3 separate regions of the Homo sapiens genome follow, and all the other regions are linked to region 3. The links are contacts of gene promoters, found by promoter capture Hi-C in blood cells and fetal thymus (Javierre and others, 2016). All regions are on one chromosome and are shown on one strand. The core of a region is centred on a gene start or on the middle of the fragment in contact, and the rest is flanking DNA. Distances in the headings are between cores, read along the strand shown.

Region 1 (2,966 bases), core at 313-2,812, 320 kb before region 3:
CTACAGGCATGTGCCACCACACCCAGCTAATTTTTGTATTTCTTGTAGAGGTGGGGTTTCACCATGTTGCCCAGGCTGGTCTTAGACTCCTGGGCTCAAGCCATCGGTCTGTTTCAGCCTCCCAAAGTGCTGGAATTACAGGTGTGAGTGGCCGTGCCTGGCCACTGCATGAATTTAAAACGTGTTCCTCCAGAGAAGGTTTGCACCTGCTTGTGCCAGGAAACACTACTAAATCGTGACCACTTTAAAATTTTGGCCTCCCCCACAACAAAACATCCTTACTGAGGGTGTTGCCTTTTGAGGATCCCAACTTTGTGACAGAGTCTCTGATCCAACTTCCCATTTCGAATGGGCCCTAGGTGTTGTCTCCTGTCCCCAGGTGTGGCCCGTAAGACCCAGGCCTTGGGCACCAGGAATTTGCAGATATTGCAAAGGCAGCACTGACTTGAGTGCTGGCTTACCATTTTTTGCTACATGCTTCCTTATTCTTTCTCTTATTCTTTTCCCTTACTTTTCTGCCAGGCAAGCAATACTTTTAAGAATATGTTTTTACGATTTTAGCCATCATTTTGAGTTTCTGTACCAGGAGAGTTTCTCTGAACATCTAGTCTACCATAGTGTCAGAAATGGGTGGAGGCTTGGGCCTTTGTTACAAGCAGGTTTTTAAAGGCAAAAAAGAGGACAAGGAGTGGGCTGATACAAAGTTGTTTGTCAGGAATTCTCATTGGTTTACAGAAATAACATTGATTAATGATTGGCTGTACAGTGTTGAGCTATAGAGTGTGGGTTATAGAGGACCAGAAGTGGCAGGAAATGGAAGAACAAATCTTAGAGGAGCCAATTTGGGGAGGTTTTAAGCTTTCTAAAAAGCCAATTAAGTTTTACATTTTCATCAGCAAAATCATGCCAACCAGAAAGCAGAGGGATCAAACTTTTTTTTTTGTAAGAGGTGTCAATCAACTAAAAAAAATTCCCAGAAACAGAATCCAAAAGAGAAAAAGCAAAGAGCCCCCAGCCTCACATATAGCCTGGGTATTGGCTTGTAAACAGAAAAACCAAACTCTGTGAAATATATTAAAGAAGTTTATTCTGAGCCCATATGAGTGACCATGGCCAGGGGAATAGTCTCAAGAGGTCCTGAGAAAGTGTGCCTGAGGAGTCAGGTTACACTTTGGTTTTACACATTTTAGAGGGACAGGAGTTACAGGCAAAGATATAAATCAATACATAAAAGGTATACATTGGTTTGGCCTGAAAAGTTGGGACATCTTGAAGTGGGAGCTTGCAAGTCATGGGTGGGTTTTAGAAATTCTTTAGTTGATGGTTGAGAGAGTTAAGCTATTGCTTAAAGACTTGAATTCAGTAGAAAAGAATGCTTGTGTTAAGGTAAGAGGGTCAGGGCAGCATGGTGGCTCACACCTGTAATCCCAGCACTTTTGGAGGTTGACATGGGTGGATCATTTGAGGTCAGGAGTTCAAGACCAGCTTCGCCAACACGGTGAAACCCCCTCTCTACTAAAAATACAAAAATTAGCCGGGCCTGGTGGTGCACGCCTGTAATCCCAGCTACTTGGGAGGCTGAGGCACAACAATCCCTTGAACCTGAAAGGTGGAGTTTGCAGTGAGCCAAGATCATGCCGCTGCACTCTAGCTTGGGCAACACAGTGAGACTCTGTCTAAAAACAACAACAACAAAAATGACAAATAAAAAAGGGAGTCACGGGTGCCAAGGCCCTTATTATGGAGATGAAGCCTCACAGGGACCAGCCCTCAGAAAGAATAGATGGTAAATGTCTCTTTTCAGATTTTTTAAAGTGTCAGCCTCTCAGTTAATCTCTCCTAGATCTTGGAAAGGCCTAGAAAGGAAGACCTGGTTGCAGTGGTGGAGATTCTCTACAGATACAAACTTCCCCCACGAAAGACAGCTTTGCAGGACCATTTCAAAGTATGCCAAACAAATACATTTTGGAGTAAAATATTTTTATTTCCTTCAGGGCCTGTAATCTGCCATGTGGTGCTAAGCCACAGTCAGGTTGGAAAGTAAGCCACAGTATACTGCGTTAATTTTAAAAACCCAGTTAATGAGATTTTATGGTTTGTTGGGTATGATTTAACCCTTGCCTTTCATGGCCTCTAGCAGTTTCTAATCATTCATTGAGTCTTTAATTAAAATATCATATTTTTAATTTCTGAAAATTCTATTTTTCCCCCAATTCTGCCTGGTTATTAGATTTGTTGGAAATAAAGCTCAGGAAATAAAGCTTGCAAAGGAAATGAGCACTCAGATAACTTCTCTGCAAGGCAAAATTTTACTTCTATAGAAGGGTGCTACCTGCATGCAAGGCAGAGGCAAGGGAGCACACTGAACAAAGGAGAGCAGGCATTTTTATCCCTAATGCAGACCCTGTTCCTGGGTCCTCCCCCGGTTGGCTGGAGTCAGACCGCACGATCTAAGCTAATCCCGATTGGCTAGTATTGACATCATCGAAGGAGGCAAGGGTGGGCACTTGATGGGAAGGACGGGCACATAGGTGATGGGACATGCTTGGACGTGTTTGGGTGCAACAGAGATAGGGAGGGCTGATAGATGGACAGGTAACATTACTTTCAGAATAGAACAAAGAACCAGGAACTGAAACTTTTGAAGAGAAACTGTTTGTGCCTAACAGATTGTTGTTCAAAATTTGGTATCTTATTGCCACAGATACTCTCTTTTGCCAGTCTTATAATCCCTGTTTTAACCACAATGCTTGTCAGTTGTGCCTAAACACCAAAAGGGAGGAGGGGTATAACAAGACATGTCGGACCTCACTTCCCACTGTAAACCAAAAATAAAAGTCTAAACCCCCAGTCATCTGAATGGACTCCTCCTGTCCCTAAAGGGCATTCCAAAGTTAACCTGAAACACTAGTTCAGGCCATGATGGGAAGGGGGTTCAGACATGCCTCATGATACCCTCCTCCCTT
Region 2 (3,023 bases), core at 93-2,592, 350 kb before region 3:
GATTGTCAGTCTACTCACTGGTAAGGGTGTGGGATTGCGGTGCAGATGAGCACCGAGGGGTTAACAGAGGGCCCTAAGGGACTCTAGGGAGAAAGGCTCCTGCCCTCTGAGCTCTTGGGTGTCCGTAGCTGTCAGGCTTTTCTGCTGGGATGTAGGAGGTGGGTGGGGGCTGGGGTCTCTGGGGGCCAAGGGAGGACATGGGGCCCGCTGCTGTGGATGGTTCCACCCAGAGACTCAGAAGCACATTTCCATTCAGGGAGAATGCGAGGCCGGTCCCTGAACCCTGCAACCATTTACCCAGTGTTGCCAAAGCTCCTGTCCCTCCTTCCGTTGTCCTGTCAGAAGCGGCTCCACTGCAGGAGCTACGGCCAGGTAGTACCTGCTGTCCAAGTGACCCCTCCCTGCCCTTCTCCACAGATGCCACTGACTCTTCAGGTTCCCTTCTACCCCTTTTCTCTCCCCCTGCCCCGGGTGCCTCTCTCAGGATCAGCTAAGCCTAGGCTGTCCCACACGGCTGTCTCAGGTTCTACCCACAGGACTGCACTGGCTTGGTGGGCAGAAGGATCTCAGGGCTCAGAGGAGCTCAGCCCCAGCCTGGGCCAGTCAGCTCCCCTCCCCAGCCCACCCTGTGCTCCCTGCTGTGCTATGCCCTCCCTCTTTTCCCCCTGCTCTCCCTCCCGAACCCAGCCTTGCTGGGCTCCCTTCTGGCGGGGACCTTTTTTGTGTGAATCCTGTCAAGCACCCGTCATCCGTCTTCACCAGTTCCACCCCTTTGGCTCTGTGTTTGCAGGACCACCTCGACACTGGCCTGTTTCCTGAGAAGCCGAGGAATGGTGTGCTGGGGGACAGCAGAGACAAGGAGGCCATGGCCCTGGATGGCACAGCCTATCAGGGGAGCAGCTCCACCTGCATCCTCCAGGAGACCTCCCTGTGATGTTGACTCAGGACCCCGCCTCTGTCCTCACTGTGCCAGGCCATAGCCAGAGGCCACCCTGTAGTACAGGGATGAGTCTTGGTGTGTTCTGCAGGGACAGGCCTGGATGATCTAGCTCATACCAAAGGACCTTGTTCTGAGAGGTTCTTGCCTGCAGGAGAAGCTGTCACATCTCAAGCATGTGAGGCACCGTTTTTCTCGTCGCTTGCCAATCTGTTTTTTAAAGGATCAGGCTCGTAGGGAGCAGGATCATGCCAGAAATAGGGATGGAAGTGCATCCTCTGGGAAAAAGATAATGGCTTCTGATTCAACATAGCCATAGTCCTTTGAAGTAAGTGGCTAGAAACAGCACTCTGGTTATAATTGCCCCAGGGCCTGATTCAGGACTGACTCTCCACCATAAAACTGGAAGCTGCTTCCCCTGTAGTCCCCATTTCAGTACCAGTTCTGCCAGCCACAGTGAGCCCCTATTATTACTTTCAGATTGTCTGTGACACTCAAGCCCCTCTCATTTTTATCTGTCTACCTCCATTCTGAAGAGGGAGGTTTTGGTGTCCCTGGTCCTCTGGGAATAGAAGATCCATTTGTCTTTGTGTAGAGCAAGCACGTTTTCCACCTCACTGTCTCCATCCTCCACCTCTGAGATGGACACTTAAGAGACGGGGCAAATGTGGATCCAAGAAACCAGGGCCATGACCGGGTCCACTGTGGAGCAGCCATCTATCTACCTGACTCCTGAGCCAGGCTGCCGTGGTGTCATTTCTGTCATCCGTGCTCTGTTTCCTTTTGGAGTTTCTTCTCCACATTATCTTTGTTCCTGGGGAATAAAAACTACCATTGGACCTAGAATTTGGGCTCCTGTACTGTCTTCACCTGCTCTTGTCCACCCTACTGCATCCTCTGGTGAGGATAAGGAGTCCTATCCTATGTACAGGTCACCTTCCTGTGCTGAGGAGGGGGGCTGTGGCTTCAAGTCCCTGCTGTCCCTGTGTCTGCAGGGGACAGTGTTGTGCTCACCATGGTAGAAGATGCACACCCTCTCCTAGGGCTTCTCATCCCCTGGGGCTTACTTAGTCTGTCCCTTCTCCGGCCCCACTTTCCCTTTGCCAGAACCTTTTGCTCTCAGATTTTTACTTTTGGAACTGGAGGAAGAATGTTCCCATCTGATTTTAGAAACGGAACATTCTAGCTGGACTTTTATGGTCTTGTGAAGAACACTGTGCTCACACCCTCCCACACCTGGCCTCTGCCCCTGCCTGGCCCTGTTCAGCTGCCCACATCAGCTCTGCACCAGCTCTCCGGGGTCTCTTAACAGAGACCGGGTCCCAGGCATATCTGAATTCAGCCTCAACTGAGGCCTTCTCCCAGGGCTTCTAGAGCACATTCCAGCTGTTCTCTCATACTCCATGTAGCTTAGGCCTGGGATGTTCTGTGTCCCTTTTTCTACCTCTACCCCAGCTCACTCGGTCACACCCCAGCCCCTTTCACCTCTGCCCTGGCCAGCCCTGTGGAGGAACAGGGCCTGGTTGTGCCAGAGCCAAGACACTAGCTACTCCCAACCTGCCTAGGCCTCATTTATATTCATGACGACAATATTGTCTCCTAATGGGTCTTAAACCTGTTGCCCTGGATTTTTTTTTCCATTCCACAAGGCTCTGGTCTTGAACATAAACATTCCTTCCAGTATGGACTTCAGGTGTCTGGTCATGATCTATTCTCAGTCTGGGAAGGTACTTTGACAGGCCAAAGGTGTGTCCACTGAATCTACCATATTTCAGACATGCCTGAGTGGTACTCCAGGGAGAACTGGGGAGAATGATCCCCAGGGTTTAATTTGCTGAATTAGGTAGGGTGGAAGTGAGTCTATGTAAGAGGACATGGAAACATTTTACGAGGGGCCCTTGGACTCAGGCCTATTTTGTTTTGTCCTGTGAATTAAAACTTCAATGATGGGAAGATAAGAAGCCTATAATTATTATTTAGAAAAGATTCCTTTGGGAGACCGAGGCAAGACGGTTGCTTGAGGCCAGGAGTTCCAGACCAGACTGGGCAACATAACCAGATCCTGTCTCTACAAACACAAACTAGC
Region 3 (3,196 bases), core at 255-2,754:
CCTGGCAGCACCTGCTGCTGGGCAAAGCCTTTCAGCTCCTCGAGAAAAGGGCGTGCCGTGGGCGCCGCGGAAGATCACAAAACCCTAAGCGAGTCGCTACCGGCTGGTTTCAAGCCTGGAGACAAAGCTCCTCACCAAGCCAGCCCAGCCCGGTCCCGGATCTGCCATCCTGGGTCCCTAACCCCGGTCCGAGGGCCACGCCCAGCCGGCCACCTGGGCCGCGGGGCCCCGCGCCTGGAGCTGAGGATCCTCGGGCCCGAGACCGCCTCTCAGCTGCTTGCCCCTCCCTCCTCGGGAGGCTCCCCTTCCCAGGAGGCCCCCCTCCCCCGCACAGCGCGGGTCTTCTCCTCGCTCCCGTCCTCCCTCCTCAAACCCAGGCGGCCTCCACCCGCCTGCATCCCTCCTCCCCTCCCCATTCTTCAGCAGAACCAGCCTCGCCGGGCGCCACCTGCACCGAGCTCCTTCCCTCGTTCTTCGGACCCGCCCCCGCCCCTTCTCTTTCCTCCTCAAACCCTAGTTCCCACTCCCTGCTCCCCGAGACCCACTACCTGTCCTAACCCAGCTCCCCAGCCTTCCCCATCCCCATCTTTTCTCAACCGAGGCCTCCCCTCGCCCTCTCCCGGCTTCTCTCCAGCTCAGACTACAGCCCCGTCCCCAGGCCCGGGGCGTCGACGTCGGTGCCCGCTGAGATCGATGCTGCAAGGCGGGCTCCCGCGCTGGGCTCCAGCCGAGGGACCCGGCTCGGCGCCCGCTCCGGGCTGGGCAGCCGCAGGAGGCCTTTGTGGCTCAGGCGGGAGGCTCGGAGGCGGCGGGCGAGTCCTCTGCAGGCGTCCGCTCCGTTAGCCGGGCGGTGGAACAGACCGCCGGGTCGGGTCCAGGCTGGGCAGATCCCAGCTCGGAGGCGAGAAGGACGGAGGGTGTGTATCTGGGTGGTGTGTGGGACCGGGGACAGCGCAGATCCTGGGACCGGCAGGACTGGCCCCCGGCCAGAGGCGCCCCCGCCCAGCCCTCCAGCGGTCCACTGCACCGCGCCCGGCTAGGAAAGCGGCCCACTGCGTGCTAGGCGCGAAACCCCTCGGCCGAGCCGCCTCCTCACCCCAGGGCTTTGCAACCCCGCGAGCACGCATTAAACGCTTACTATGAGCAAGGCCCGGCACGGCGCTTCGCGGGCGTACAAAGAGGACCCCAAGAGCGCCCCGGCTTAGCCCCGATGGCCACCTCCCAACCCCAAACCACACCTCCCGCCGCGTCCCCTGCGGCCGGGCCCCAGGCTCACCCGGCTCCCCGCCCTTTTGTGCGCCTCACGCAGAAACAGAAGGGGGAGAGGAGGATGTCCTAGCCCGGGAGGGGTAAGCCCACCGACCCCCCTGCCATCACCCACTCCTCCGAGATGCTGCGGCCGCGGGGGCCCGTGGCTCGGTCCGTCTCCGTCTCGCCGCGGCGCCGGAGCTGCGGGTGCTCGGGGCGGCGGCGGCTGCACGCGCGCTCGCTCGGGGGCCGCCTCAGCGCGCCCAGCGCGGGAGTCCAGAGTGGGGAGCGGGGGAGGGGCGCGTGTCGGGGGCTGGGAGCGGCCTCCGCCAATCACCGCGCGGCCGGCTCCTCCCGCCGCTCCCCACCTCAGCTAGCAGGTTAAGGGGAGGCGGGGACAGGCGGCGTCCCGCATCCTTGGCGCCGCGCGCCGCCGCCGCCTGGGGACTACAACTCCCGGCAGGCCCTGCTGCAGGGCCGGGGTCCGAGAGCGGACGGAGGGCGCGGCCGGAGAACTCACCGACCCCCCTAGCACCCGGCTCCGCGTTCCCTCGGGTTTCCATGGCGACTCAGGACACCACAAAGCCTGGACGCGCTGAGGCACGGGTCCCCAGGGAGGGCCGGGGGCGGTTCCGGAGGACACCCCGCCTCCCCTCCCCCAGCTGGATCCCACCCCAGGGGCTGAAACAATGCCGCGGCCGCCTCTCCCGGGCTGCGGCCGCGCTGCCCTCCGCCGCAGGACCCCGCCGAGGCCGCCTGGTTCGCGCCAAGACCCGCTCCGACGCCCGCGGGATTGCGGGATGCAAAGGGCCGGGTGGGCGTTATAGGAAAACTGTTCTCATGAACAAAGTGGACGGCCACTTGGGGCCACCGCAGTTCGCATCTGCACCCGGGGAGGTCTCGAACCCGGAGTGCGTTCTCTCCACTGAGAAGATTTTGCCCAGCGCCACGCGGGTGCTTCCCTGTCCAGAGCGCTCAGGCCCAGTGCCTGTCTTATTTCTGGCTTCTGTCAAGGGACAGCGAAGCCTTTGGAAATTATTTATAACCCAATTTACATTCGCTTCACCTGTTTCTTCATGTTTAAATACATACATAATTTACCAAAATAAACAAATCTAAAAAAGGAGAGGAAGGATCATCCCCGGTTTGTCCCACCTCCCTAGCTAATCCCGGTTCAAGCCTTTGCCATTGATCTGTGTTATTTTCTGCAGTTGTAATAATAGTTTGGATTAGTCATTTGCCTCTTTGCACTTAATGTCACTCCAAAGGCGTTGCGATGCGCGTTAAAATGCAGCATCAAGGACCTCCAAGCTGCAGCTGCAGAATCCCTCCCTCCCCGGGCTCCCCGGCGATCCGGTGGGGAGAGGAGTCCCCTGGCAGCCATGGCCTCGTGAGGTGGTTCTCTTTGCAGGATACTTTCAAACAAAATGGTGTTCACTACTCCGGGGGCGTGGAGGGGGTCCCCTCTCCCCATCTCAGCAAAATCTACCCGGGCGCAGGACCCGCAGAGCCCGCCAAGGCGGGGTTCCCTGCCGTCCTTCCCCAGAGAGCTTAGGGCCTGGACCAGGCCAGGCTGGCCTTTGAGGGATGCATTTCTGGATTACCCCACCCCTGAGTCTGCACTCCTTCTCCCCTTCCCAACTCCCGCCTGCTTGGTAAGCAGAGAGCAGGGAGCCCCCAGAGGAACCTCAAAGCATCCCTAACCCAGTGCAGCCCGGGATGTGGCTGTGAAAACTGCTCCAGCTTGGGGCACTGCCCTATGGATTCTCCAGGGCTTGCCCGGACAGGGATGTAGGCAAAATGGACTGGGCTTCAGGGAGGTGGCGTGGAGCTGCCAGCGGCCTCCCGGCGGCGGGGTTCCGAGACTACCGCGCGCGGGCGGTGCTGCGCTTTTTGCTTAAGGGAGAGAGAGCCCTCTAGTGACTGTAAATGTTTTCTGCAGCGTCTC

What was found. Contacts are between HindIII fragments. The CHiCAGO score rates a contact against its expected background, and 5 or more counts as called.
Region 1: a contact is called between a fragment that was not itself captured here and the fragment with the promoter of DPYSL5 in region 3, in 3 of 17 cell types (megakaryocytes, erythroblasts and endothelial precursors). The highest score is 5.5, in megakaryocytes.
Region 2: a fragment that was not itself captured here is called in contact with the fragment with the promoter of DPYSL5 in region 3 in 1 of 17 cell types (megakaryocytes); the score reaches 5.5 in megakaryocytes.

Annotation. Positions count from the first base shown.
Region 1 is chr2:27,165,060-27,168,025 of GRCh38, reverse strand. No RefSeq gene overlaps it. Among named protein-coding and RNA genes, the nearest start is that of TCF23, 18 kb to the right of the region's middle. RefSeq lists an enhancer at 2,325-2,634. The HindIII fragment of the contact is 1,403 bases long and covers 861-2,263 here.
Region 2 is chr2:27,198,347-27,201,369 of GRCh38, reverse strand. SLC5A6 (solute carrier family 5 member 6) reads left to right here. Exons shown (of 17, transcript NM_021095.4): 15 at 1-20; 16 at 257-372; 17 at 791-1,783. The coding sequence ends at 934. Among named protein-coding and RNA genes, the nearest start is that of ATRAID, 12 kb to the left of the region's middle. The HindIII fragment of the contact is 6,317 bases long and covers 1-3,023 here.
Region 3 is chr2:26,846,440-26,849,635 of GRCh38, reverse strand. It overlaps DPYSL5 (dihydropyrimidinase like 5), which reads right to left and starts at 1,504. Exons shown (of 13, transcript NM_020134.4): 1 at 1,382-1,504. The HindIII fragment of the contact is 4,603 bases long and covers 1-3,196 here.